Regions from separate parts of the Homo sapiens genome. Here regions 1, 2, 3, 4 and 5 are each linked to region 6. The links are contacts of gene promoters, found by promoter capture Hi-C in blood cells and fetal thymus (Javierre and others, 2016). All regions are on one chromosome and are shown on one strand. Each heading gives the region's core, a stretch centred on a gene start or on the middle of the fragment in contact. The rest is flanking DNA. Distances are from core to core; before and after follow the strand shown. Region 1 overlaps WDR35 (WD repeat domain 35). Region 2 overlaps LOC105374317 (a long non-coding RNA gene). Region 3 overlaps LOC105374318 (a long non-coding RNA gene). Region 4 overlaps LAPTM4A (lysosomal protein transmembrane 4 alpha). Region 5 overlaps MATN3 (matrilin 3). Region 6 holds the start of HS1BP3 (HCLS1 binding protein 3).

Region 1 (4,430 bases), core at 1-2,500, 690 kb before region 6:
TAAGAAGTATTAGTTAGACATGGTTGCTATTGTTCTTTTCACTTTTATCACCTACATAGGATTTTATAATAAAACCATATATAAATTCTCAGTTACTACAAAAAATAGAAATATATCTGAAAAATATGTTCTTTTGAATCAGTAAGGTGGTAATTTCAGCAAATTCATATGGGTAGATAATCCTATCTATACATATTTTGCTAGATCTTTATTAAGATTCATCCCATCTAGACTAAGCTTCTAGGAAAAGCAAAACAAAATCTTAACAGATACAATGTTTTAGGACAAGAACACAGCCAAGATGAAGGCCCTCCATGCCCTTTTTGACTGTTCAATATCTGAAAAGAAAAAAATTTGAAATATCTAGAAAGGTTATTGGATTTTTTTTTTTTTTGAGACGGTGTCTTGCTGTGTCACCCAGGCTGGAGAGCTGTGGCACGATCTTTGCTCAGTGCAACCTCTGCCTCCTGGGTTCAAGCGATTCTCCTGCCACAGCCTCCCAAGTAGCTGGGATTACAGGTGCATGCCACCATGTCTGGCTAATTTTCGTATTTTTAGTAGAGATGGGGTTTTGCCATTTTGGCCAGGCTGGTCTTGAACTCCTGACCTCAGGTGATCTACCCACCTCAGCCTCCCAAAGTGCTGGGATTACAGGAGTGAGCCACCATGCCCAGCTTGGAAAAAAAGTTTTTAAGAAAATAATTATGCTTTCATTAACTGAACTTTGTAATGCTAATAGGCAGTCATTACTAGCCAAGCAAGGATGTAAAATAATTTAAAACAATCTTGGAATTCACATATAAATAAAACCTGCTTGTAATATTTTAATGCTAAGGCATGAAATAAATGCCTACATCTGTAATGTTCACCCACTTTCCCATTTATTCATTTCTCAGCCCTTTCAAGTGCTGGTAAATTGAAATTTCACTGAAATGTTTTCATCAAATTAACTTTCTCTAAAATATATGGAAAACCTAGTGCACGTGTTAGATACCATCATTAGAAAGCTGCCCATGTGCTCCCACTAAAATGGCTGCAGCATAGGCAAACTGGTACTTGATGGCCACTTTCCATGCCTTCATTCCTCTGCAAATGCCGTTTTCTTTCCTTGAAATATCACCTAAAGAAATACTTACTTTTCAAAACTCAGCTCAAATGAAACCTTCTCTAAGTAGAAAGATGTCTCTGATGTCCTTATGCACCAATAACCATTTACCTGGCACCTAGAGCAATACCTAGCACGCAGTAGGGAAGCAATAAATCACTGTTCAATGAATTAACTAGGTTTTAATTATTTGTTCAGAAATCCCACAGGAAATGTCATAATTAATTTCTTATTATTCCCAGTGACCAGTACAGTACCTGAAACAGTATATACTCATTGATAGTTTGCTAAATAAATGAATCATCATTTTTTATTTACATGATAGAAAATAAATAATTTCCATGCATTCAATAAACATTTATTATGGGCCAAGGCAGTGTTAGGTCATGGGGATACAGAAGTTAATTAGACGTAGATCTTTAAGAAGTTCAAAGTCTAGTGGGGAAGATAGACAAGAAAATTAGTAACCACAGTGCAGGTTAAGAGGTATTTTGGATGGAAGCACACCAAAGGTATTATGAGTGCTCAAGAAAAGAACACCAAAAAAGGATACCTAACTCTCATGTGTAGAGTATAACAGAGTCCCACAAACTACACTTCTATAATAATCTATAAAGTTCATTTTAAAGTTTCTACAAAAATTATAAAGAGGAAGAGTAGGTGGCAAAACAAAAATAATAAATTCTAGAAGAGTATCACTCACAGACTTTTTTTATTTTAGCCTCTAGTCCTCATAAACATTTGGCATAGAAACTTTAAAAAAGAAATTTTACAGGATATGTATGAAACAAAAATGTTGAGTCTTTGGCTGTGTTCACTGCAGGCCAATGAAAGAACTGTTTGTTAAAATCTCAGTCAGCAAGACTACAAAAAAAAAAAGTTTTGAGACTCAAAAATACAAATAGTCATGCTCTCAAGTATTTGCCATTTTATGAAGAAGGATTTACATTTAGCTTTATTTTAAAAAAACAGTCTACTTGTGATAAAAATTACTTTGACATTAACCCTATCACCATTATGATTCTATGTTAAAACTTTGGATATTAAAAGAAAAAGCATATAATCTGAAGACTGACAAAATTTACCTCTTAAAGACTGTTAATGCTTCTAATAAACAAGAGATATTTATGTGATGAGAGTCTGTTAATAATTTTAAGCTAAGCTTTTTAACAAGGAACACTAATGTGTATATATATGTGTATATAAATATATACACATATAAAACATATAAACATGCCTATGTAGCAATGAATGTAAGACATGAAGTTGAAATGTGTCAATATATCTAAGTGAGTAGGTTATCAAGACCCTAAGCCATAGAGTATAAAGTCTTTGAGGTCATTATTTCTCATATTTGCTATTATCACCCAAACACTTAGCAATTTTTTCAACAAACACTTAGCAAAATGCAAACACTCAAAAGGCAACAGGCATTAATACTTAATTGCTTAGGCTAAATGTCCAATATGAAAAAAAAATGACTAGTTCTCAGGTTCTCAGGAATAATGCAATGGGTTTTTAATTTCTTAGATTTAATAATTTTTACAATACTGTATCCAATATACTACCATACACATTAAAAGAAAATCATTACTTTTGGAAGTTACAGTGAAATGGCAACAAAATACTTGTTAATGATTTTTAATAATCTACTTAGAATAAGATTTGGAATTTTTAATGGGTTACTTTCATAGTTATTGGGTAGAGGGAATAGTAAATCTAAAGTAACAAAAGTCCTTTGAAAACAAAAAGTCAGGAATTTTTAAAACTGTCCCTATTAATAGACTCATTTCATTAGAAAAATCTGGAAAGGGCAAACTCACTTTTACAAGCAGCCAAAGTGTTTTTATGGAAGAGAGGTATTTACAAGCAGTTTATTAATAATGAAAGTGGTTTAATAGCAAAATTCTTTCTATAATCCTCAGTTTATTACATACTAATCATTACGCTGCATACCAATTCCTACACAATTATATTTCCCATTTAAAGCGAATGATGGTACTATAGCAGTTGTGAAATTATAATGGATTTTAGATAGACTAACCTTATAATTTACTGTCTTAACCAGGATACTTTTGAGAGTAAAATGGGATATTAAGAATTCTACCATGGTAACAGATATAAACTGGTACTGGATCTGACAAAGTAGGAAGTATGGTCATCCTCGTTTTAGAAAACACCATTCTAATTAATAATACCAGTGTTAGGTTTTTAAATTAGTGTTACAAATAAAACCTGATTGGAAAAGAAATAAATATCAACATTTCCTTACCAATATCAATGTATTTGGGATCCAAGGGTGTACCAATAGAATTACAAAGAACTAGTACAAACTGTGAACAAATAAAACAAAAAGTATCAGAACTCCTGCTTATGAATAATAAAGGAAATATGCTTAATATATATCATGCTTATCTCTTTTTCAAGTATTGCTAACTGGGAAATAACTGATGAAACTGTTACGTGCAAAAAATAGCAGACAAAAAGAAAGATGATTTACAGCATTAAATATAAAGAAAGATCAGTTAATACTAAACCAAGGCTGCTTTCTCAATGTAATGGAACACTGTGGTTTTTAAGAAGACACAAGAAACACAAGTACTCTGGCTACTTTTCATCATTTATACAAGGGGTCTTCAAAAAGTTTATGGAAAATGTGTATTATGGAAAAAATAAGCATGGATTTAAAAATTGTTTGCATCAAAATAAACGTGCACTAACTTGTTAAAACATGTTTGAACAGGATCTAGTTTGAAGCACTAAGAAGGAGATGGCAGCAGTTTGAAAAAAAGCCCTGTCAAAGAAACATTAATTCTGCTAAAATTGAAGCAAGAAAAAACATCAAATTTATGGTGCAGCTTGGGTGGAAGAATGGTGAAATCATCAATCCTTTATGAAAAGTTTATGGGGACAATGCCCTAAAGAAATCAGCAGTCTACAAAAGGACAACTCACTTTAAGAAGGGACAAGACAAAGTAAAGATGAAACCTGCAACAGCAGACCATCCATGTCAATTTGCAAGGAAAAAATGAATCTCATCTTGTTTCTGCCCTAATTGAAGAGGACTAACAATTAACAGCAGAAACAATAGTCAACACTATAGACATCTCAACTGGCTCAGCTCACACAATTCTGACTGAAAAATTTGAGTTAAGCCAACTTTCCACTCAATGGGTGCCAAATCCGTTGCACCCAGATCAGCTGCACACAGGAGCAGAGCAGTAAATGGAAATTTCAAACAGGTGGTATCAAGAACCTGAGGCATTTCTTCAAAAATTGCAAAAGGAGATGAAACATGGCTTTGCCTGTATGATCCTGAATGCAA
Region 2 (4,566 bases), core at 1,096-3,595, 590 kb after region 6:
GTTCCAAGTCTTTGCTATTGTGAATAGATCAGATGGTTTTAAATGTGCAGCCTTGTTTCTGGGCTCTCTATTCTTTTCTGCTGGTCTATGTGTGTGTTTTTGTAACAGTACCATGCTGTTTTGGTTACTGTAGCCTTGTAGTATAGTTTGAAATTGGGTAGCATGATGCCTGTCACTTTGTTCTTTTTGCATAGGATTGCCTTGGCTATTCAGGCTCTTTTTTTTGCTTCCATATGAATTTTTAAATAGTTTGTTTTAGTTCTATCAGTAATGTCATTGGTCGTTTAATAGGAACCACATAGCATCTGTAAATTCCTTTGGAAAACATGGCCATTTTAACAATACCGATTCATCCTATCCATGATCGTGGAATGTTTTTACATTTGTTTGTGTCATCTCTGATTTATTTGGGCAGTGTTTTGTAATTCTCATTGTAGAGATCTTTCACCTTCCAGATACCTACCAAGTCTTATATGGACTTCTGTACTCTGGCCCATAGCTGTCTTTCTGGCCTCATTTTCCACCATTCAACTCAATTACTGCTTCCATGAGCCACACCAAGCCCTATGCCCTCCTGATTTGGGGAGTCCTTGCCTCTCCTATATCCTCTATCTTAAAGGCTCTTCCTTCAGATATTCATGTGGCTCATGTACTGATTTTGTTTAGGTCTGTCCGTCTCATCTGAGAGCTTATCCTTGGCCACCAGGCTAAAATAACACCTTCTTACAATTCCCTATTTCCTTATCCTGTTTGACCTTTTTTCCTAGCTCTTGACATGACAGAACACTATATTTGCGTATTTGCTTGTATACTGTTTACTCCGACTCTCTCCTCTCTTCATGAAAGTTCTATGCAGGAATTTGGTCACTGCTGAATTCTTATGCAATAAACAGTTTTTGAAAAAAATGAAAGAATGATTGAATCTAGATTTGATAGTGTTTCCTAATATTTATATTTTAATTCTATTTGAATCTTGTCTCATGTCAAGGAGCTCCGTATGGAGACTCTTCATTTCTTTGCTTGAGGGACCGTTTTCTCCTTTGTTATTTGACTGAGATTCATGTCTATCTGTGATTATACATTATCCTGTATTTCAATTTTTATCTTTCATTACTTCCCAACTGGAAGCCACTGATTACATATTTGCCTTGTTTATTTTTACTGCTAAAACTTTGCATGTCTGTGCCCCTACTTGCAAAATCTCTCTGGGACCTCCTTCCCTGTTGAATTTCCTTTCATTACAGATATAAGATAGGCAAGGGGGAGAGGGTTGAATACTTTAGGATAATCTTAAAGTGAGGAATGCCACAGGTCTCTTAATTCTGGTACTCAAATCTAGTCTCTCCAGTAGGATTTTTAACTATGCAAGGCACACCTCTTTATGTGGTAGGTTTTATAGAGCAGAAATAACTTTCATTCAATTTGTATTTTAGAGATTTTTTTTCCCATTTGCTTAATATCTTAATGCACATTAGACAGGGAAGGAATAAAAGAACTTCAGGATGGGTCTAACTTTGGACCATAATAGCCTACAAAAACCCCAACATTGTTCCCCTAGATATTGGCAGTGTTCCCCATAAGCCTCATTTTTCTAGAAAGACTGAATAAACTGATCAGATGTTACCCATGTGTGCCCACTATAAATATGCACAACTCTGTAATCCTATCATCACTGCTATTATAATCACCTGTACCTGAAAGTATACCTCCCATCATGGGCCCACTCTTGGGGGAAGTTTTATCTGTTAGGGAGGTCACAAATATTTTAATTATTAGAGGACCTGTCTTCAACGAGGTGTCATATTTGAACAAAGCTGTCATCCAGTAACTGGAAACAAATGTCAATGTAGAATAAATTTGTTTTATAATTAGCATTCAATCTTTGATGTCAAATGGATATAATAATTTAATGGTAATAATTAGACTTTATTGTAATTAGCTTAAAAATGATTGATACATTCAGAGCCATGCAAATTTGTGGAGAGCTGATTTTTAAAAATCTGTGTATCTTCCTTAGTTGAAAACTACTCTGACGATGTTGATTTTGGCCAAAATATTCTATACATTTAGTGCTAATTCAATACCATTTTCAAGTGTTTAAAATATTGACAAATTGACTTTTACTTTCTTCTTGAAGGAAAATTTAAATAATAATGGGCAGAAAATTTTTGGAAAAAAGCTTGGGGGGATATGCCCTACCAGATATCACAGTATACTGCGAAGTAAATGTGGTGGCAATAATATGGTACTGACATAGGAATATGTAGATAAATGAAAGAAAAGAGAAAATTCACAAACAGAGCCTAGTTTATATTAGAGTTTTATATATGATGGAGCTAGCACTTCTAATCAATGGAAAAATGTTGATTTCTTAGTCAATGATCTTGGAAGAATTGGCCTGAGTTAGCAAGAAATCCATTTTACACATTAATAAAGCTCAGCTGGATTAAATATTAAATTTTTCAGAAATCCTATTATGAGAAGAACATTTCCTCTTAATCTTTTCAGTAGAAAAGCTTTTCATTGCTTGGCACCAAGGCCAGAAACCACAAAGGAAATGAACACAAATTTGACTTCATAAAATCTAGAATTTCTGTATGACAAATTATAACATTCATTCATTCAGTCAACCAATATTTATCATGTATCTACTACCCACAAGGCATAAACTGGAACCATATATAGTTAATATGCCATACAATGAGTTAACATTTTAAAAGCATAAAAAATTCCTACAAGTCAATAGTGAAAAGATGAACAACCCAAGAGAAAATGAGCAAAATACATGCAAAGGTAATTTATCAAAGTACAAAAAGGCCAATAAACAACTGAAAAAATGTTCCATAGTCAAAGATGTAATTTAAAACAACAATAATATATAACTTTTCACTTATTGTCTTGCTAAAGATTTAAAGGATTGATAATATCCACTGTTGATAAGGGTGTAAGCAAACAGGCATTTCAACTTCTGGTTTGAAAATACACATTGCACAGTTTTTAGAGAACAATTTTGCAAGACCTGACATTTAAAATTTACATCACTTTTTACTCAGCAATTCTATTTCTAGAAACAAATCCTAAAGAAATTACTGTTCAAGCGTGCAAGAATTTATGCAAAAGGTGTTTATTTGTAGCAATGTTTTTGCTAACAAAAAATGAAAATCACCTAAACACCTGTTTATAGAGATTAAACAAATTGTTACATCTATATGATAAAATTCTTTGAAACTGTCTAAAATAAGGTAATTATTTGTGTACCTACATGGAAACATGCCCACAATATATTATATTAAGAAAGTCAGCTTTATAGTATAAAGAGAATGACCTCATTTTAAGAATATGTGTGTATAGGCATTCAAAAATATGTATGAATATAGTACTACATAGAAACAGCAAAAAAGTGTTAGTGCTGATTGTCTTTGAAGGATGGAATTCCAGGGCACTTGTATTCACTTCCTTAAATATGTCAGTATCTTTTGGATTTACATAAATAAAGAGCATGCTTTTATAATAAAAAGGAATGTTCTCATTTGAAGAAATTGAAATCATAACACCATAAAAATAATGCATAATGATTATTTAAGGGCACAACTCTCTTCTGCATATATTTTCAATAAGGATTTATAGGATCTCTAGCCCAAATTTTTTTTCTTTTTTCACTGAGAAATTTGCTTTGTCAGTTCCCAGTTATTTTGGTGAGCACTTCCTTAGGGTCAGACACTGAGGGTCACAGAGAGGACTGGGACAAGATGCCTAACTCTAGCGATCTTGACACCTTATAATGTGGTCAATTTGATATAGTAAGGAAGATCTTTTAGCGGGAAGAGGCCAGTCAATTCAACTGGATTAGAACCTATGGGGTCCTGAAGAAATGTATTTGAAGGAATCCCAGAGATTCATAATAAGAATATTTGCACCAATGAGTCTTGAAGTTAGTTCACTGCCTATCTGTGGCCATATTGGACCAGAAAAATGCCCTTCTTTTACAGAAGGAAGCAGAGTTAGGTGCTACTTCCATGAATGCACTGACTACCTAGTGGTTCTCTTGGATCTGTATTTCCAGAGCAGCCCTTAAATCCCTACTTCTGGTATCTCTTCATTCTTTGGCTCCTTCGTTCTTTAGAAAGTGAGAGCTTGCCTTGAAAACACCAGACAGCGGCAGGCCAATTCTTTTGGCTGGTAGGAAAGTGCACAATGTATCTGATCATCAGTTTCTTATAGGGACAAGCTAACTTTGCTTGTGGATAGATTGACAGAGTTCTGCTTCTCAAACTCATGCTACTGATCTCCCTTGTTGTGATTCCCCTGGGCTCAGAAACTCTCCTGCCTCCATCCTCTTATAGAAAAAAAAGTTCATCTGGCTTCCTATGATAAGCAGAGCCTTTCATGCTGGTTTGCCATGGTCTATGATAGAGCCCTGACATTGCTTGTTAAAACTCACAAGGGTGAGAGCACAAACGTGTCAGTCAGCCCTGAGAGACATGATTACACATGGGCTCTTTCCTTTTGGTCTCCCTATATCCTGTGGGGTGGAGGGGGTAAGCCATTCACATAATTCACATCACT
Region 3 (4,458 bases), core at 1,382-3,881, 680 kb after region 6:
GAAAGACTGATCTGTAACCATGTCAACTTTCTGCAAATTATAGTTTTAACACAATTTCAAATAAAGTCACAGTGTTTGCTTATTTAAAAATTGATATGATTATTCTAAAGTTCACCTAGGAGAATGAGTGAAGATTATTCAAGAAAATTGTGTAAAAGACATACATGTTACCTGCCCTACTGTTTATGACAATGTACAAAACTGAAAAATCCAGTGATATCTTTCAAGAGGAAAAAGTATTGTAAAAGACAGAATAGAAAAATGAATGAAATAAAAAGTGTTAAAACATCCCTAAATTACATATACATTCATGTGATTTGATAGTATTTCAGATCCTTGGAAAAATTAATTATTCAACAATTAGAACCAGAACAGTTGATTTACCTTTGAAGAGCATACTCAGGTTAGATTTCTACCTCGTGTAACAAAATTAATTCCAATTCAGTTAAATGCCCTTTTATAAATCAACATAAAAATGAGTACCTTAGTAGAAAATATATAAAGTTTATAAACCATTTTTAAACGAAGAAATGTAAGTGACCAACAAGAATGTGAATTTAAAATAACATATTTTTTTCATTTATTTACTTTGCAAAGAGAAAAGCTGCGAAGAGGTTGTGGTAAATTGGCCTCTCTTCTACTCTACTGTTGAGGGTGTAATTTCGCATAATCATTTTCGCAGGGTAATTTGGAAGCATGTATTAAGTCTTAAGAATATGTATTCTTAAAATGTCCAGAACTTTCAGCAAGTAATTCCATTTCCAGGAATTTTTCTTTAGGATATAATCAGAGATTTGTGTAATGACTATTGCATAAGGATTCCTAGTACTACATTATTTTTATAGTGAAAATTAGGAAAAAAACCATAAATGTTCATAGTAGGGAATTGCTTAAATTTTGGTTTAGTTCTGTAATGTAGTTCTGTAAAACCTTAACAAACTGTCTTTTCAGAGAAAAAATGACAAGGGAAAAGTGTGGGCTGTTAGTAAAAAAAAAAAAAAAAAACAGAGAAAAACTGCAAAAATTAATTTATATATTAGCTTTTGTGAAGAGGGAGTTTAAAACACCCCAGACTCTCTGGCGGAATCAAATCTGGGCATATTTTATTGAGTAATATATTAGGAAGTAAAATAACTTTGTGTAATTATAAGGTTTTGCTCAGATATGGGTGACTCTTCTCTTGCTTTTGTCTTGCCGGAATTAAAATGACACTTTGTATCTTTGACTATTTCTTCTTCTTCTCCTCCTAGAAGTGGGTATATGAGAAAGCAGGCATGGACAAGAGGGCAGAAGCTGTTGCCATTGGGGAAGTATTCTCTCCTGCGATCTTTTTCTCTTTGTCCTTCTCTCTGGTGCCTGGAGCCTGGCATGGACTCTCCTTCCTTATGTTAAAGTAGTAGGAGGCAAGATCCCAATCCAGGCTTAGGAGAAGCAGAGAAGGTAGGGCCTTTGGTTTCCCCAGCACAAGGAAAAACAGTCCTTCCTCTTGCTCATTAGAGCCACATGTTAGGGCTTGGGACCAAACATCAGGTATCAGTATGATCTAGCTGCACCTTACCCTCTGGATGTATTTATTTCACTCGGAGACCTTTCACATTGTAGTGTTCTAGGACAGGATTGGGTGGTTTAAGCCTTGATCTAATACTATCTTAATCTCATCAGAATTTCTCTCTGTCTCGTCTCTCTCTTGAGAAACTGATTTTACAAATAGAGAATGGCCAGACCGTATATAAAAATAGAACTCTGACTCGCAATCTGTAGCAATCAGTCCAGAAGGACAAACCACAACCTCTGTAGCAATCAGCCCCAAACAGTCAGGAGTTGAATCAATAACTGCCAGCTGCACTATCTTTTGCCCTGTTTCCAGTTTAGAACTAACCAGGGGAAGCTAAATACGCTCTCCTTTCCAATTACACAGGATGCCCTGATTCTAGTGAGCCTACCTCCAGCTTCCCTTATGCCAAAAACCTCCAATAGTGGCATATCTGAATCTTCCCTTTTTGTTCATTATAAAGCTTTTATACTCCACTGCCTACCTTTAGTGTCTCTGAACTGGAAGTAATGTCCTTGCTCTAGCAAGCTCTGAATGATCTTTGCTTGTTCTCATTTGAGTGGTCTTTGTTTCCAGACTTTATCTGTGTATTTTCCTATAGGTATATGACTATATATACAGAGAAATATATACCATAAAGGGAGAAATATCTAGTATCTGTAGAAATATACACAATAACCACAATAAATATATATTGCTATATTAGTTTCATATTGGAAAACTAAATGCACAGGGTGGTCACATTGGAACTCAAGGAAGGCCTGGCTTCCAGCACACTTTCAAGAAGTTCTAAAACTCCAAAAAAGAAGAAAAACTATAGGCTGGAATCAAGGAAGTCTCTGGGAGTGAGAAACTGGAGCAGAAGCCAGGTGGAGACAGGAAGTCAGAGGTCAGTGTGATTTATCTGTAGTGCAATACAATTATGTCAAAGACTAGTCTGGAAGTACTCTTGTGAGCAGAGAGGGAGAGAGACTGAAGGCAGGAATGCTAGCCAAGTCTCTTCAACAGTGTAGAAGAAATTCTGAGATCACCCAAGAAGAAGGGATAAAATACTACTTCTTCGAGCCATATTGTGATGGCTAATTTTATGGGTCAATGTGACTGGGCCACTGGATGTCCAGATGTTTGGTCAAACATTCTGAGTTTCTGTGAGGGTGTTAATGGATTAGATTAAGGTTAAAATCTTAACCTTAATCTAAAGCAGATTTTCCTCCACAATATGGTGGGCCTCATCCAATCAGTTGAAGGCTTGAATAAAGCAAAAGGCTGACCCTTTCTCAAATATGAAAGGATTAGCCCGTTTGAATGCCTTTTGAGTGAAACATCAGCTCTTCATCAGCTCTATCACAGCTACTGGCTGTTGGACTTAAACTATGACATTGGCCCTGTAGATCTTAGACTTGGCCTTCCTAATGACATGAACGAATTCCTTATAATAAATTTCTTTATATATAGGATATACATATAAAATATAGAAAATTTATATACAGGATATAAATATATATATGCGTGCACACGTGTGTGTCTATAGAGGATATATATACATAGGCTACAGATAGAATATATATAGATTGTGTTTCTCTGGAGAACCCTATAGTATACTATAGCATAGGAAATGTTTCCTGTTCTATAGGAACCATTTTTCAAGTTTGATTAGACTTAAAAGGCTAAGCTGGTATTTTGAATGAAGGAAATTGAAGCTTTTAAGCTACAGAATGAAATCATTAGTAGAAATGGAAAAACAAAGAAGGCCAGAAATGATATGGGGCAGGGGAAGTAGGGGATTGGCTAGTTCTCTTTGGAATATATTGAGTTTTAAATGACAGTAGGATATCCAAGAACAGCCGAGGAGCTGTATATGTTTTATAAAACATCCTCTGTAATGTTATTTGAAAGGAAAAAAAAGCAGTGAGATATAAAAGTTTAATGGATTATAGAGAGACTGATTTCTTGAAACAATTATCCCCAGCTCTGACACCACAGGTTATCACCAGTTTTCTTAAGGAATGTCACCAAATTTTAATCAAAATTAATTTTAGTTTATTTTGCTCACTAATCATGATCTGAAACAGCACACATCAGTGGGGATGAAGTGGAATGAAGTAGTCTCTCATATACCACTAATATTTTGCAACAACAGGCAAGTTGTAATTGTTATGCAAAACTGTCTAGATTGCCAGTTTACACTGAACTCAGCAGGTGACCCCTTCACTCTCCAATTCTCTTTGCATGTGCATAACCAGACTCAATGGTGTACAGAGGGACTGCTCAAAAATGTTGACTGTCAAATGCATAAACATGAACCAGGGTTAGAAAAACAGGATTAATGCAGCCTGCTTAATGAGTGTTCTCTGCAGAATGACTCTTCAGCAAGGAGGCAAATGTCCAATAGATTCAAGAATGTAACTGGAGCAGCAAAAACAGGTCCACTGGTGGCGTCACTCTCCGAGCTGTCTGATGCCCTGCTTTGCGCTTCAGTCCCTGCACACTGAATCGTTAACCTTTGGCACTGCGTAGGGTTCAGCATTTCAGAAGTGTCTTGATTATGAAAAATCTGCCAGCACTAATGGGGAACCTCTGACCCAGGTGCCAGCCCAGCCTTACAGCTCCACAGCTGCTGCAATTTTGATTGAAAAACAGGTCTCTGGTGTCAGGAACAAAGTAACTGGGAATTGGGCCACCTGTAATAGTTACACTTTTATGCAAACCATGAAGATTCGTCTTATTTTTTTTCTTTTCTTCTTTTGCTGTCAAAGGACTGATTTCCTACATTGTCTGAACACAACACATACAAATCACCATCTTCAACTGCCTTCTACTCATATATTTCAGTTAGGGACCTACTGCATGCCAGCTCACTGCTAGTTGCTGTTTTTTTTTGTTTTGTTTTGTTTTTTTTTTTATGA
Region 4 (4,954 bases), core at 1,143-3,642, 610 kb before region 6:
AGATCTTTAAGCCATTCCTCTGACTAGCATGTTTCCTAGCTACCTATTTCCCTTTTGTCTTCCTCTTTACACATGCTCCAGTTTGATGGACATATATTAAAATGAGGTAAAGTCACCCTGGTCAGAACATAATGGGATCTCAGTTCTCATATTCTGGCTAACGAATTTCAATTAATGCAACCTGAAGTTGTACTGAGGTTTTTTGTTTTTGTTAGAAACAAGGTCTCACCATATTGCCTAGGCTGGTCTTGAACTCTTGGCCTCAAGTGATCCTCCTGCTTTAGCCTCCCAACATGCTGTGATTACAGGCATGAGCCACCGCACCCAGCCTGCATTGGCTTTACAAATTTTCTGAATATCACATGAGAGTAACTCCCTAAAACACCAAGTTCTTTTTCACACTTGATTGTGCTAAGCTCCCACCTGTACAGTTGGATTCAGAGGCCCAAGCATAGGCCTTAATATACCTGTAATTGAGTTTCATCTTATTACATTCTTGCCTATGAAGATTTTCTGGATGTGGATTCTGACACACTACAGATTTACTGTCTCAACTTCCTGAATTTAGGATCAGCATGTAATCAGTATTTCCATCTAAGTTACTAACAAAAGAGAACAGAGGTGAGGACAAAGCTGCCAGAGGCTGCCCCTTCCCATTAACTAGCAACTTCTGAATAAAATTGTTTAGCTCTTTAGAGGAACAGCCTGCTGAAATCCCATTATAATATCTGAATTTTCCTAGTCTCCCAGGGTTGTAAATCCATTTTAAAAGGAAATGAGTTGTGCCTGTAGTTGTTGGCCAATCCCTGTGGTATCCCAGGAGGCTTCACTGCATTTAAGTACTCAGAAAGAGTATTGTTAACGACTCAAGACAGAAATCTCACGTAGGATTGGAGTTAGGCTTCCTTATCTAGCATAGTAAAGTTCACAGAATTTGCCCTCCTTCCCTTTGTGAAAATGTGAACATCTGGAATTTTCAAGGGTTAAGTTCCTATCAGTAGTATTTTAATTTATTTAGTTTTTGAGATGGAGTCTCGCTCTGTCGCCCAGGCTGGAGTGCAGTAGCGCAATCTCGGCTCACTGCAGCCTCCACCTCCTGGGTTCAAGCGATTCTCCTGCCTCAGTCCCCGGGGTAGCTGGGACTTTTTTTTTTTTTGAGACCAAGCCTTGCTCTGTCACCCAAGCTGGAGTGCAGTGGCGCAATCTCAGCTCACTGCAGCTTCCACCTCTTGGGTTCAAGCAATTCTCACACCTCAGCCTCCCAAGTAGCTGGGACCTTTTTTTTTTTTTTTTTTTTTGAGACCAAGCCTCGCTCTGTCACCCAGGCTGGAGTGCAGTGGCACGATCTCGGCTTACTGCAGCTTCCACCTCTTGGGTTCAGGCCATTCTCACACCTCAGCCTCCCGAGTAGCTGGGACTACAGGCGTGCACCATTCAAGCCTGGCTAATTTTTGTATTTTTAGTAGAGGTGGGGTTTCGCCACGTTGGCCAGGCTGGTCTCAAACTCCTGACCTCAAGTGATCCACCAGCCTTGGCCTCCCAAAGTGCTGGGATTACAGGTGTGAGCCACTGTGTCGGCCAGCTATCGATAGTATTTTAAACAAACTATTATATACTTCTCTCCTGTTTCACCTTGAATGATAAACACACAGGAAATGCATTTTCCTTTTATCAGCTGAAGTCATTTCACTAACATCCGCTAGATAAGCAGATCAAGTTTTATTTTAGGGTAGGTGATCTAAACAATGCCACAATATGAAATTTGGAATCAACCAATATTTATTGAGGATATGCTTTATGACATGTGTATTTACGTGTATTACTTCACTTATTCCTCACAACAACCCGTGAAGTAAGTATTACCAAAGCCTATGTGTAGATGGGGAAACTTAAGATTCAGTAAAGCTATATAACTTGTGTTAAGCTTGCTGAGCTGACAGATGGGAGAATCAGGACACAAGTCTGGTTTTTAAGACATCCTCCTTCTCAGCACTACGTGATTATTAATAAACATTCCCCAGTAACTCCTATTTTAAGGTCTTTCCCAAAGAAACCATTATCTAAGGCTATAAAATGTTTAGACTTTACTGTCTATGTTCAGCAGCAAGCCTCTTTCCTTGCATTGTTCAGAGGCAAGGCATGATATCTTTCAATTCTTGAGAGGACTTACCAGGAACAATCACTTTTGCAAGGTGGCTCTCCCCAGTTGAAAGCTGATTTTTTTTGTTGCCCACATTTGCTGCAATGGGTTTTGGCCAGCGTGTGTGGTGTATGAGTATGAGCTAATACAACTAGGTGAATTAATTACTGAACTATCAGATATATCTACTAAAACGTTATATGTTCTGTGTATGGAAATCAGTTTGAAATCAATTAGGCAAACTCTTCTTTGCTAAACACAGCATAGTCACAGTGAAAAAGCTCTCTGCGGTACAGAAATTCCTTTGTCAAGAAAAGCATGCAAACCCAATTACTAAATGAAGGGAATGACATGCCAAAAACATTTAGGAGTTCTATTTTCCCTTCTTAAATATTTTTATTACATGAAGGATTTCTAAAAATCTCACACCTATAGTCCCAGCTACTTGGGAGGCTGAGGTGGGAAGGATCGCCTGAGCTCTGGAGACCAGCCTAGGCAACAATACTAAGTCTGTCTCTTAAAAAACAAAAGAACTCTTCACTTTTCTTCTCTTCCATGGATAAGTCACACGCTCATCCACTATTATCTTCTTTTAGTACTAGAGACACTTCAAGTTTAATTTCACTGTGGGTCATACCACTAAATATTAAACAAAATAAATCGTAGGGCCAATCAGAAGGACCAAGAAACAGTGAAATAAATTTCAATGCTACTTCATTAAAAGCTTTTTCCAAATCTTCTTTGAGTTAATTATATTCCATTAGATCACATCATTTCATTAGAACCCCAACTTACATCTTAAAGTATTACACTGGAAAACCCATCCTTGTGACTTAAAAAAATTTTTTTTGTAGAGATGGAGTCTCACTATGTTGTCCAGTCTGGTCTTGAACTCCTGGCCTCAAGTGATCCTACTGCATTGGCCTCCTAAAGTGCTAGGATGACAGGCACGAGCCACCGCTCCTGGCATCCTTTGATCTTAAAGATATTCACCAACGAACGCCTACCTTGTGCTCACATGTAAGCCCTGGCAACTTATCTCTGATTAAAGTTGATATTTCTAAATTACATGTTTAGCTTTTCAAAAAATACATAAAATTAACTGTAATCTTACAATACAAAATTTCTCTGAAAATATCCAACTATGTACTAACTATTACAAATATTTATTCCTGATTCACTTTTTCCTTTCACTGTATTCAGGAAAGAAAGTTAATAAAAATGTAATTTAAAAAGAATGATTAAGCTGGGGACAGTGGTGTGTGCCTGTAGTCCCAGCTGGTCAGGTGCCTGAGGTGGGAGGATTGTTTGAGCCCAGTTCAAGGCTGCAGTGTGCTATAATCATGCCATTGCACACCAGCACAGGCAACATAGCAAGACCCCATCTCTTTAAAAAAAAAAAAAAAAGATTAAATTATTAACTTCTAAACTTGGCAATATGGAGAGGTATAGAATGCAGCAATATTTTAGCAGCATGGGCTGCGGATTCACCACTCAATGTGTTAACAGTACTGTAAATTTAATCAGTCAAATCAGGTGGTGTGCATTGTTTTTGAAAGCTTCTACATCTTATGTAAGTGTGTACAATAAGAAATCTGTTAGATTTGACTTGTTACAAAATAACTGTATCAGATCCATGGAAGCACAGGGCCTGAAGAGAGGAATTCTTTGTTTTCTTCTTTCACTGCCACACCTATTCCAGAAGATTCTCTGGAGACTTTAAAAAAAAAATCATTTTTCAGTTTTCCCACAGTAATTTGCCCAGAGCCAGTATCTACTGAGATAATAATTAAAACAGTGTGTCTGGTTTAAGGAGGCATCCAGATAAGGGCTTCCCATGCAGAGAAAGCACCCACAGGAGGGTCAATCTACAGAACTAAGCAAAGCCTGTTATCTGATAAAGATCAAAATTGACTATCTTTAAAACGTTTTTTAGCCATAAAAAAGGATTAGTTCATGTCCTTTGCAGGGACATGGATGAAGCTGGAAACCATCATTCTCAGCAAACTATTACAAGGACAGAAAACCAAACACCGCATGTTCTCACTCATAGGTGGGAACTGAACAATGAGAACACTTGGACACAGGGTGGGGAACATCACACACCTACACCAGGGCCTGTCAGCGGGTGGCGGGCTGGGGGAGGGATAGCATTAGGAGAAATAACTAATGTAAATGATGAGTTGATGGGTGCAGCAAACCAACATGGCACATGTATACCTATGCAACAAACCTGCACGCTGTGGACATGTACCCTAGAACTTACAGTATAATTTAAAAAAAAAAAGTTTTTTGTTGTTGTTTACTGTTACATGCAGATACAACTGAGTATTCACAATATTTTTTGGAGGAGACATTCATTCAACAAATGTGTAATGAACACCTCAAATGTTTTAATTAATAAGTTAGCCATCACACACATTTTATTTTGAGACAGGGTCTCATTCTGTCACCCAGGATGGAGAGTAGTTACTGCGATCTAGGCTCACTGCAACCTCTGCCTCCCCGGCTCAAGTGATCCTCCCACTTCAGCCTCCCCTGTAGCTGGGACTACAGGCATGCACCACCACACCATGCCCCGCTAATATATATATGTATGTATGTGTGTGTGTATATATATTTTTATATGTTTTATATATATTTATATATTATATATCTATATATAAATATATATTATATAAATATATATATAATATAATATATAAATATATATATAATATAATATATATTTTTTTTTGGTAGAGAGGGGGTTTCGTCATGTTGCTCAGGCTGGTCTCGAACTCCTGGGCAATCCACCTGCCTTGGCCTCCCAAA
Region 5 (4,535 bases), core at 134-2,633, 650 kb before region 6:
TACAAAGATCCAATATAGGGATGGGAGATCATAAATTCATTAAATATAATCTATCATCTATCCACCTGTCTGAATCCTATTGAACCTTTTAGGGACAGCCAGTCCAAATCCCATCTTAGTTAATCAGTCAATAAACCAGGAAGTATCTATTGAAGATCAACTACATGTCCATTATCCCTGTACCCATAAGATGGGTATATATAATACTTGTTCAGTGTCTGTCGTGCCTGATAGTCTCTAAGCTCTAGCAGGGCATGGGTTCAGTGGGATAGTCTTAATTACAACACTTCATAGAAAATTGTAAACCTGGATTGTAGAAAAATTGAAAGTTGAGAAATGGATCTCAAACTCCATTTCTCAAACCTGGGTTGTAGCAAAATTGAAAGTTGAGAAATGGAGAAATGGTGCTTATAATAGCACCAGAAGGAATAAAATAGTTAGGAATAAATATTTTTAAAAGTACAAGACTTGTACACTGAAAACTACAAAACAATTTTGAAAGAAATTAAAGAAGACCTAAAATAAAATAAAATTAAATTAAATTAAAGACATACCATGTTAATGCAATGAAAGACTGTTAAAATGGCAGTACTCTCCAGGAAAAGATGCCTCACCTCATTAGTAACCAGGAAATGAAAAAAACATCCACTGGATTGGCAAAAATTTAATTCAACAAAACCAAATGTTGGCAAGCAAATTCTGACAAGCAAAAGCATTGAGGGGAGGGTGGGAATGAGTGAGTGCAGGGCATGCTCCTGGACCATCAAAGAGCCCACTGTGGCTGGACCAGGATGCAGGAAGAAGCAGTGAATCTGGGGGCAAATGTAGTAGAAAAGTTTTAAAAGCCAGGATGAGAGAAGTAGTTACCATGGGCTGAGGGGAGCGGGTGATGGGCAGTTATTGTTTCATCGGCACAGACTTTTATTTTGGGATGATAAAAAATTTCTGGAGATGGATACTGGTGGTGGTTGCCCAACAATGTAAATGTACTTAATGCCACTGAACTATACACTTGAAAATAATTGAAATGGTAAATTGTATGTGTATTTTACCACAATAAAAAAAATTCAGACTTAGGCAGAAAGTTTAGTTATTAAGAAAAATGTGAAAAACAGAGAAGACAGAAACAGATCATGGAGGGTAGGCTGCCTGGTATAGGGGTATCATTGTTTTATTCTGTAGACCAGTGGGAGCCACTGGAGAATTCTGACAGGGAGAAAGAATCACAACTGTGTCTTAGACAGAAAGAAAAAAGCTTGCTCCTGAAAAATTTTCCTACCAAAGGAAATAGCCTTAAAGGGCTGATCCTCACCTGAACATGTTTTCTTGTCCTCATTTAAGGTGTAGCCAGGATAGCAATCACAGTGGTAGGATGCGGCCCCATCACTCACACAAATGTGCTGGCAACCATGAGAGCCTAGGGCACACTTGTCACGGACTGACCGCACGTGGTGCAGGAAAGAAAATATTCACACATTAAATAGAAAAGTAAACACAAATGTTTGAGAGGAGAAGCTTCCATTTGGTCCCCACAAGTGCTGAGAATGTAGTAGTCAGTAGTCAGCAACAGGCCCCATGCTGCAGGAGCAAGCCTGTTTTCTCTTCCCATACCTCTCATCCCTTTGGCCTCACATCACACACACTCCTTTCCTTTATATCTCTCACAGATATCTAAGGGTACCTTTCCTTTTTTTCTACCCACAGCACTGGGCAGCACTGAGTCTTGACTATATTCCAGAACTTACCTCCAGCCTTTCCCGATGACTATCAATGCTTCTAGCATCCCCAGCTACTCATGGATCATCATCATCATCACCAAAAGTAATGTTTTAGGGACCTAATCATACATGGAGCTAAGTTTGATGCTGCACAAAAAGCACTATATTGACCAAGTGCCTGCCTTCATAGCTTACAAAGTGTAACAGAAAAGACTGACCAGGAGACACATGCACACACACACACACACACACAAGCACAGATGGGGAAATGATACAGGGTTAGTAATGATGATGTGTATGATTAGAGAGTGAAGTACTTACTATCTATCACAAATAACATTTCAGGGACAAATGCAGTTTGCCCAAATTTGAGTGGAGAGGAGAGCAAAGTGCCATACTCATCCCATGTTCAGACTGGCCTAGGACAAATAAAACAGTAATTCTCCTTTGAAATCCAGAAAGCCTTCCTGGAAGACATAGGTTCCTCCTCTGCCATTGCAGGAACCAAAATAGTTTATTTCCCTCTAATTTTCCTCTTAAATGTCATTTCATGGGCAGAACCTTTTGTGGCTCACTAATGCCTATAGAATAGCTTCTTGTGAAATGTGAGACGCTATATAATCTATACATAAAGTGCCTTTCCAACCTTAATATGGCTATTCCCTTTCAGTGCTACAATTTAGATTTTTTTTTCAGCAAAATGCCTTATAGCAGGGTGTTTCATTTTTTTCCCCCTCATTCCAGGTTAGTACCCACTCTACAGGTGGCAAATGGACATGCTTCCAGCCCCTGGCCCTTATTTGGGGCTCCACATTTAATTTACAAGCCTTCCTACCACTAGCAACGGAAAAGCAGACCATTAGAAGGGATCTGATCCATGGTATGTTCCCCAGCTTTATAGCAGTATTCACTATTACTTTAAAATATATAAATAGGCCAGGCACAGTGGCTCACACCTGTAATCCCAGCACTTTGGGAAGCCAAGGCAGGTGTATTGCTTGAGCTTAGGAGTTCAAGACAAGCTTGGACAAAATGTCAAAACCCCATCTCTACAAAAAAATACAAAAATTAGCCAGGTGTGGTGGCATGTGCCTGTAGTCCTAGCTACTCAGGAGGCTGAGATGGGAGAATCACTTGAGCCCGGGAGGTAGAGGCTGTATGAGCCAAGATCACACCACCGCACTCCAGCCTGGGTGACAGAATGAGACCCTGTCTCAAAAAAGAGAAGAAAAAAAAATATATATATATATAACTAACTTTCCCACTAGTATTCTTTCTCTTCTGTCCCTCTTCACTGTCCTGTGCTTTGTACATTAAGACAGTAAGGCTTAGTGGTTAAGAGCCTATGTAACCACTAGAGGAAGTACCTGGGTTCAAACCCTGGGTCTGCTACTTGCTAGCAGAGTAACCATGGGCAAGTTACTGAATCAGTTTCCTCCTAACGTTGCTGTGAGTATTAAGGTACATTACTGTATCTAAAATGCCTAGAATCCTGCATGGCCTACAGTAGGTATTGAAGAATATGGAATACTGGCATCTGGGAGTGTTGTCTGCCTTAACTGAAAATTTTCTTTGATTTATGTTTTTTTTTAAAATAGATTGCTTCACTTTATTCCATACTATCTGTTAGTTTAAATGGAAATTTGTTTTTGGTTTGTTTTCCCAGGTCTTCAATGTTCCTGGCAGCTTAAAGTACCAACTGGGACACTTGTCACTAGTTTGAGAAGTGCAGCCATAGGTGAGTTCTCTCCACCCCAACTTTCTTAGTCATCCTGCCCTGAACAAATCAGCTCAAGCCAGTCCCCCGCCAGTGCCACTTTCCACTTGTCTCCATTGAAACCTTCACCCTCCTTCAAGGCCCACCACCAGCCCTTCGCAGATGCCCACCTCCCCAGCCTCTACAGCCCTTTGTTTCCATCAGTCCCTCTCCCTGGCTCAGTCTCTGCTTTCATAAGGAGCCGGCTCTCTGTTCACCCAGATTTAACTTGCTCAGAGGCAGAAACTTAGGCTTCTTTGTATGCTCCCAATGCTTAGTTCCATACTGGGAACAAAGTAGGTGTCCGGTATTTTTTTACTGGTTTCCCTTTAAAAAAAAAAAAAAAAAAAAAAAAGAGGGGACTGGGTGACATGCCATTTCCCTTTGTCTATCTTGATGAAGTCTGTATGTCCTCAAGGGAGAGGAAAATATATGTCAAATCTAAAACACATTCAATATGCCAAAGCTAAACGGCACCTTGAGAGCTTGGAATTTCTCTCAGGAGTGTTTTTACATTTATAAATGCCACCCTGTCCTGCCAGTAAGTTTAAATCAAATTAATGAGGATTAACAGCACTGGCCTGGGCTCATTGGCCAACGTATAAGGCTGAGTTTCACCAATGATTGATCGTCTAGAAACTGCCAGGGAGTGACTGGCCTCAAACTTACTGGAAGATCTGTGTGGGTCTAATTCAGGCATTCACAAAGTCTTCTTTACTAAAATCATCCAGCTTTAAGATTAACACTACAGAAAAGTTCCAGGCCAAGTTTTAACTGGAAAAAGATCAGTTCATCCTATCACACCAAATAGTTACTGTCCAACTGACTTCCACTAAAGTTTTCTCTTTGCTTAAAAGTCTTCAGTGTACAGAGCTATAAAATTTTCCTGGATAAGGACCCTACATTTAGTTAGTTTTTCTCATATCCCCCACTCCCTACCTATTTCCCAGTAATTTTCTGAAGTAATCTATGTTTGCTCCAGTGAGCTCACCACCCTCTGAGCAATGTGTGCCTTCATCTAAAAGTGTGATAGAATGTCTGAACCTTGATCTTAAGTTACC
Region 6 (5,045 bases), core at 153-2,652:
GGAAGGGCCGGCCTTGCTGCTGGGCTAAGGCGTTTGGACTCACCCTGCAGGCAAGATCCTTGGGTGTGCTGGTGCCCTCAGCAAGAAATGAGCCTGACTCATGTGGCCTTACCACCGCCAGCGCCCCCACATCTGTTAACAAGCCACGTCCAGGCTGTGCAGCGGGGCAGGGAGGGAAGCCACCCACCCCATCCCAAGCACCCAGCACCAAAGTCACACCCCATCCATCTGCACATGGCTGAGGGGCATATACTACTGACGTTGCTCATGCCTGCCAATCTGAAACCTCCAATTCACAGAAAAGGAAACTGAGGCTTGGTGAGAGGAGGTGACGTAAGTGGCAGTAGGGAAACCTCTTCTGCCCATGAAGATACAACTGTAACCACACTTGATCATGAAAGACCAAGCAGCCTCCGACATCAGGGTTTACAAAAGGAATCATACCTTTCTAGACCTGAAGTCACGGGGAATTCCTGATTACAACTGGAAGATCAACAGTTGGCTGGGTAACACGTTCATTTATGTCATAAATTGGCATCTTAGCCTAAGACTTTGTGTAGGGAGAGCAAGGGTGAAGTGTATGAAAATATTTGAAGTAAATCACTTTACAGCGTTTTAAAGGCGGAAAGAAGTAAAAGCACGTGCCTCCCAGCCTTGCCAGGATCCACCTTGGGCTGGGTCCTCCAGGTCTCGATCAGGGCCGACCCATTCTGCATCCTCCGCCTGGACCCCTCCAAGGCTTTTGCTGTAACTTGCGCTCTCCTGAGCTGCCTCGCAAGCAGCAACGACCTCTCCCTGGTCTCTCATCAAACTCATCCTCCCAGAAACCGGGTTCCTGCCCTGTACTGTGTTCCCATGGCAACCTGAGCTTACTACCCGCTGCTGGCATCACCCCCTCTCCGCTGCAGCCCCCTGCAGGGCGAGCTTGTCTGATTCGCCTCTGTCCCCAGTGCCCAGCACCGGGCCTGGGACTCAGGGAGCTCTGAAAGGATGGGGAACTAGATTTTCGGGCTCAAAAGAGAAGAACCCAAGGCGGTAGGAAAGGAGAGCAGAGTCCCCACTGCGCCCGCCTGCACTGAACCAGTCAGTCCCAGGGCTCCCGCTGTCCTTGGCTAGTTCTCTACCCTCCAGAGGGCCTCGGTTTCCTCATCTGTAAATCGGGGTCGCCACCTCTCCTGCAGGGCGGTGCAGGGGCCCAGCCCGGATAAGCCACCGAGGGCGCTGGGGAGACCTGCACCAGGTCCCTGGCCTAGGAGGCGGCGGCCTCCCCCCGCCTCTCCGCCCGGGCGCCCCGGACTGCGAGCTGTGCGGTGTGGGGCGCGGGGGTCTGGCTCACCTGGAGGTGACGAGCACCGCCGGGGACTGCATGACGGCGGCGGGGACTCCGGGCGGGGCGCGCAGTCACGGGACCCGGCAGTGCCCGCGTCACCGCGTCCCCGCCCTGCCTCCCGCTGCCCTGGCCTGCCCCCTGGTGGCAGCGGCCGCGCAGTTCGCGCCTGTGGCCAGAGGCGGGGCGGAAGCGCGGCTGGGCGGGTCCCGCACGGTCGCCGTCGGCCTGCGCTGCTCGGAGCTTCCGGAGCACCCAGGCTGAGCCGCGCCCGCCGCAACCACCTAGAAGAAGCCCAGCCTGGCCCTGGCACACGGTGAACCTTAATCGGTGTGTCTGTTTTGCGCTAAAGTTTAGCCGTTAGAGAGACGGGACTCTGCTGTTTCCGCCGCCAGTCCCCATTACAAAACCACTCCCCCTCTGCCCCAAGACCATTTCATTCAACCGATCGGTCAACAAATATTTACCAAGCTGGGGCTCTGTCCAGGCTTCGTGGGGTCTTCTTCAAGCTGCACAGTGAACGCCACGCAGCAGCCCAGTCCCCTTGAGCTTGCTGCCTCCAGCTAGCTCGCCTATCTGGTTCCTACTGCCTGCCCGCTCCATAAATGGCAGGCACTCTCCCGACAGGGGATCTTTAGAGAGGCAGCCTCTGCTGCTTGGCAGAGCCCTGGTGGAGGCCTCCCGGGGCCGGGCCTGCCTGGGATGGCTGCACTTGGGTCCCCAGCTGGAGCAGGGCAACGGGGTCCAGGAGCCAGTTCCCCTCAGAAGGGGAACGTACAGACATGCAGACCCTAACAGACCCACTCATTTTAGATTCACCTCTCCATGGGGTGAGGAACAGAGAGATCGTATCACCTGCCAACGTAGCCCAGGGAAAGAAAAGCTGAGTCTGCAAACAGGGCCAGCAGAAGGTGCAAACTGCTGCCCCTGTTCTGTTACTCCCTCCACCCAGAGCCCCAGTGACAAAAAGAAAGAGAAGCTGGGCTTAACTATACCAGAATTCACGGCAGGGCGATGTCAGCCATGTTTCCTGAGCCTATCAACCACCGCCACCAGCATCACCAACAATATCTACCAGTTTTTACAGATTTTAGTGAAGAAATCCTACAGTAAAAGATTTTGAAAAATGACTTTCCCCAATGTATCTCTTGAATAAATACGGACATTGATATGCCTTATTATTTGTCTCAGATTTGTTTATAGGCAAGATGAGCAATCATGAATGAAGTATGACAATGAATGAAAGTTCTGAGGGAGACCCTTGAAGGCTGCAGTGAAGAGCTGGGATGATGGCGGGAACCCCTGTCTGCTCTGCTGCTCATCGGCCTGTCCGTCTGCAGGGCCGTGTTCATGGCTGCAAATGGTCCTCCGTGTTTTGTTTAAATTGGCATGCCCTACTTTAGAGAAAGGGAGTTCAGGGTCTGGACAGAAAGCAGTATAGGCTTCAGCATTCCAGGAGTCTGAGTGTAGTGCCAGGCAGTCGAGCAGTCACCATTGCACTCACATTTATCCAACAGACAGAAACACAGTGAATAAGACACTTTAGATGCCTTCAGTGGACTTCTTTGCCCTCCTACATGGGGAGTGGGTGGGGGTCTGGAAAGGCTTTCTAAAGGAGCTGAAGTCCAAGGGAAAACCTGAAGAAATATGGATAGAATAGATTAGAAGGAATGTCACGTGCAAAGCCCTAGCGACAGGATAGGAACACCAGGGAACAGGGGGAAGAGGCCAGCAGGAGCCAGGGTGTGGACAGCCTAGTGCACCAAGGCCAGGGCTTTGCCTGATCCTGAGGCCAACACAGCGCCATCAGAGGGTCAGGGACATAGGAGTGGCTGGGCCAGCTAGGGCGTGGGCAGGGTTTTGGAGCATGTTGAAGGTATGAAGATGAGCTGGACTGCAGAACAATCCAGACAAGAGACAATGGTCCCATGAACTAGGGTGATGGCCACCCAGGTGGAGAAGAGGGGACGGGTAAGAGGGCCTTAGGAGAAGGAGTTGGTCAAGACTTGGGAATCCAATGGGTGTGGGCGGGAAGAGATAAGATACCACTATGGTTTGGCTCTTGTGAGTGGCTGGACATTGGTATCATTCTCTGTGGCAGGGCACCTGGAGAAGGAGCATATTTTTGGTAGGATGATGGGTTCTGTTTCAGACAGGCAGTGTTTGAAGGGCTGGACCTATTGATGCGATTGGGTTTATGGCCCTGGGCCTCAGGAAGCCGACCTGGGCTGGAGACTGACATAGGAGTCATGGGTAAAAAGGAGGCTGTTGAGCCTGAGAGTTGGGGTGAGCCCACCAAGGATGGTCTACAATCCAGAGATATGCAGCGGTGTTGGGGGGCTGCAGAGAAGGGGACTCTCCATCATTGTGGGAGCTGGTAGCATGTCTGTCACCAATGCCTTGTAAGCAAATGAGAGGGCCTCACCTGTGCCCCTGGGGTTGTGAAGTGTGCACCTCAGGAAGACTCGGCCCACCTGTCAAGAATGCAACTGGTTTCCCATGAAAGAACGACCCCATTCCCAACAGCAATCCCATTTTCTGCCTCTGTGGGTCCCACGTGCCCCTCTATGGCTCCAGCGCGTAATTGTATACAATGCATGGAATGTGGGATCTAAATCTGATATTTTCTGCTTCCTGTTTAATTCAAGGAGCCCCTTCCATGGCTGAAGCTGCGGTAACACAAACCACATTGCAAAGGATTTTCTATTTCTCTCTTTCTCACTGCCCTGGGAGGAACACTCCAGGCCTCAGTTTCCACCCAGGAAGTCACTGGGCCTCAGGACACTGTGGTCACTGAGAGACACCCGCAGCCTGCAGGGGGTGCTCTGAACTCTGGCTGAGCCATGCACCAACGTTTCCCATGGTGGCTCGGGTCTTCTGGGACCTTATAATTTGTCTCTGTTCCCTAATGTGATACTTTAGAGCTCCAGGGTCTGGGCACATCCACATGGAGCAGGGCCACCACCTTGCTTGTCACTCAGCAAACACTCATAGGTACAGCTCCAGGCCTGTTATCTCCCCAGGCCTGGGGGCTACAGAGCCTTATCCTGTGGGGCTCACAGCCCACTGCAGGGGCTCACAGGCCACTCTAGGACAGCTGGAGATTTCAACAAGGATGCACGCCTAGGGTGCTATGGTGCACAGAGGAGGGCACATAACTAACTCAGCCTAGGGTTGGGCATACAAAGAATTCTGCCAGGAGGAGGTGATGGCAGACCTGGGTTGTAAAAAGTAGGTATTATTTTTTTGAGACTTGATTTTCTCACTGGTGAAATGCACGTAACAGAAACCTTTAAATCATAACATTGCTTGAATTACATGAGGTAAAATGAGACTGAAACAAGATGAAATGTATGGCAGGCATTGGTGATGAGCTAACCGGAAGCCATTCACAACCCCCTTCTTCCTGGTTTTTATTACCATAGAGGCTGGAGAAGTAAAACACATGTCCCATTTCAGTTACAAGGGGCCATGTGACATAACTGACCACATATACTTAAGTCCCTGTGGAGGATTTATCTTGCTAGGAGAAAACTCTTCGCTCCTTCCTTGTCTTCTACCTGGGAAGGGGATACAGTGTTGGAGACACAGCAGCCATCATGGGAGCAGGAGGCACAGACATGAGTTTGGAGTCTACCATGTTAGGGATGAACAAGCCTGGGGAGCTGATGGCATATGAGCTTGCATACACGCCCTGGACTTTTTCTACAAAGTTCTC

What was found. Contacts are between HindIII fragments. The CHiCAGO score rates a contact against its expected background, and 5 or more counts as called.
Region 1: a contact is called between a fragment that was not itself captured here and the fragment with the promoter of HS1BP3 in region 6, in 1 of 17 cell types (fetal thymus). The highest score is 5.3, in fetal thymus.
Region 2: a fragment that was not itself captured here is called in contact with the fragment with the promoter of HS1BP3 in region 6 in 1 of 17 cell types (M0 macrophages); the score reaches 5.7 in M0 macrophages.
Region 3: a contact is called between a fragment that was not itself captured here and the fragment with the promoter of HS1BP3 in region 6, in 1 of 17 cell types (M0 macrophages). The highest score is 5.6, in M0 macrophages.
Region 4: a contact is called between a fragment that was not itself captured here and the fragment with the promoter of HS1BP3 in region 6, in 1 of 17 cell types (naive CD8 T cells). The highest score is 5.1, in naive CD8 T cells.
Region 5: a fragment that was not itself captured here is called in contact with the fragment with the promoter of HS1BP3 in region 6 in 1 of 17 cell types (naive CD4 T cells); the score reaches 5.8 in naive CD4 T cells.

The regions. Positions count from the first base shown.
Region 1 is chr2:19,957,177-19,961,606 of GRCh38, forward strand. WDR35 (WD repeat domain 35) reads right to left here. Exons shown (of 27, transcript NM_020779.4): 11 at 3,378-3,438. Among named protein-coding and RNA genes, the nearest start is that of WDR35, 31 kb to the right of the region's middle. The HindIII fragment of the contact is 2,030 bases long and covers 236-2,265 here.
Region 2 is chr2:21,241,359-21,245,924 of GRCh38, forward strand. The region is part of intron 1 of LOC105374317 (a long non-coding RNA gene); the gene reads left to right. Among named protein-coding and RNA genes, the nearest start is that of TDRD15, 120 kb to the left of the region's middle. The HindIII fragment of the contact is 337 bases long and covers 2,178-2,514 here.
Region 3 is chr2:21,329,391-21,333,848 of GRCh38, forward strand. The region is part of intron 2 of LOC105374318 (a long non-coding RNA gene); the gene reads left to right. Among named protein-coding and RNA genes, the nearest start is that of TDRD15, 210 kb to the left of the region's middle. The HindIII fragment of the contact is 1,237 bases long and covers 2,014-3,250 here.
Region 4 is chr2:20,041,935-20,046,888 of GRCh38, forward strand. All of the region lies in intron 1 of LAPTM4A (lysosomal protein transmembrane 4 alpha), which reads right to left. Among named protein-coding and RNA genes, the nearest start is that of LAPTM4A, 7.2 kb to the right of the region's middle. The HindIII fragment of the contact is 940 bases long and covers 1,923-2,862 here.
Region 5 is chr2:19,995,822-20,000,356 of GRCh38, forward strand. It overlaps MATN3 (matrilin 3), which reads right to left. Exons shown (of 8, transcript NM_002381.5): 6 at 1,313-1,438. WDR35-DT (WDR35 divergent transcript) reads left to right here. Exons shown (of 3, transcript NR_110235.1): 2 at 3,385-3,456. Among named protein-coding and RNA genes, the nearest start is that of WDR35-DT, 7.9 kb to the left of the region's middle. The HindIII fragment of the contact is 260 bases long and covers 1,254-1,513 here.
Region 6 is chr2:20,649,696-20,654,740 of GRCh38, forward strand. It overlaps HS1BP3 (HCLS1 binding protein 3), which reads right to left and starts at 1,403. Exons shown (of 7, transcript NM_022460.4): 1 at 1,337-1,403. The coding sequence starts at 1,368. It overlaps LOC105373466 (a long non-coding RNA gene), which reads left to right and starts at 1,587. Exons shown (of 2, transcript XR_001739320.2): 1 at 1,587-1,657; 2 at 2,280-2,505. RefSeq lists enhancers at 750-829, 850-999, 1,084-1,821 and a silencer at 1,080-1,669. The HindIII fragment of the contact is 7,312 bases long and covers 1-5,045 here.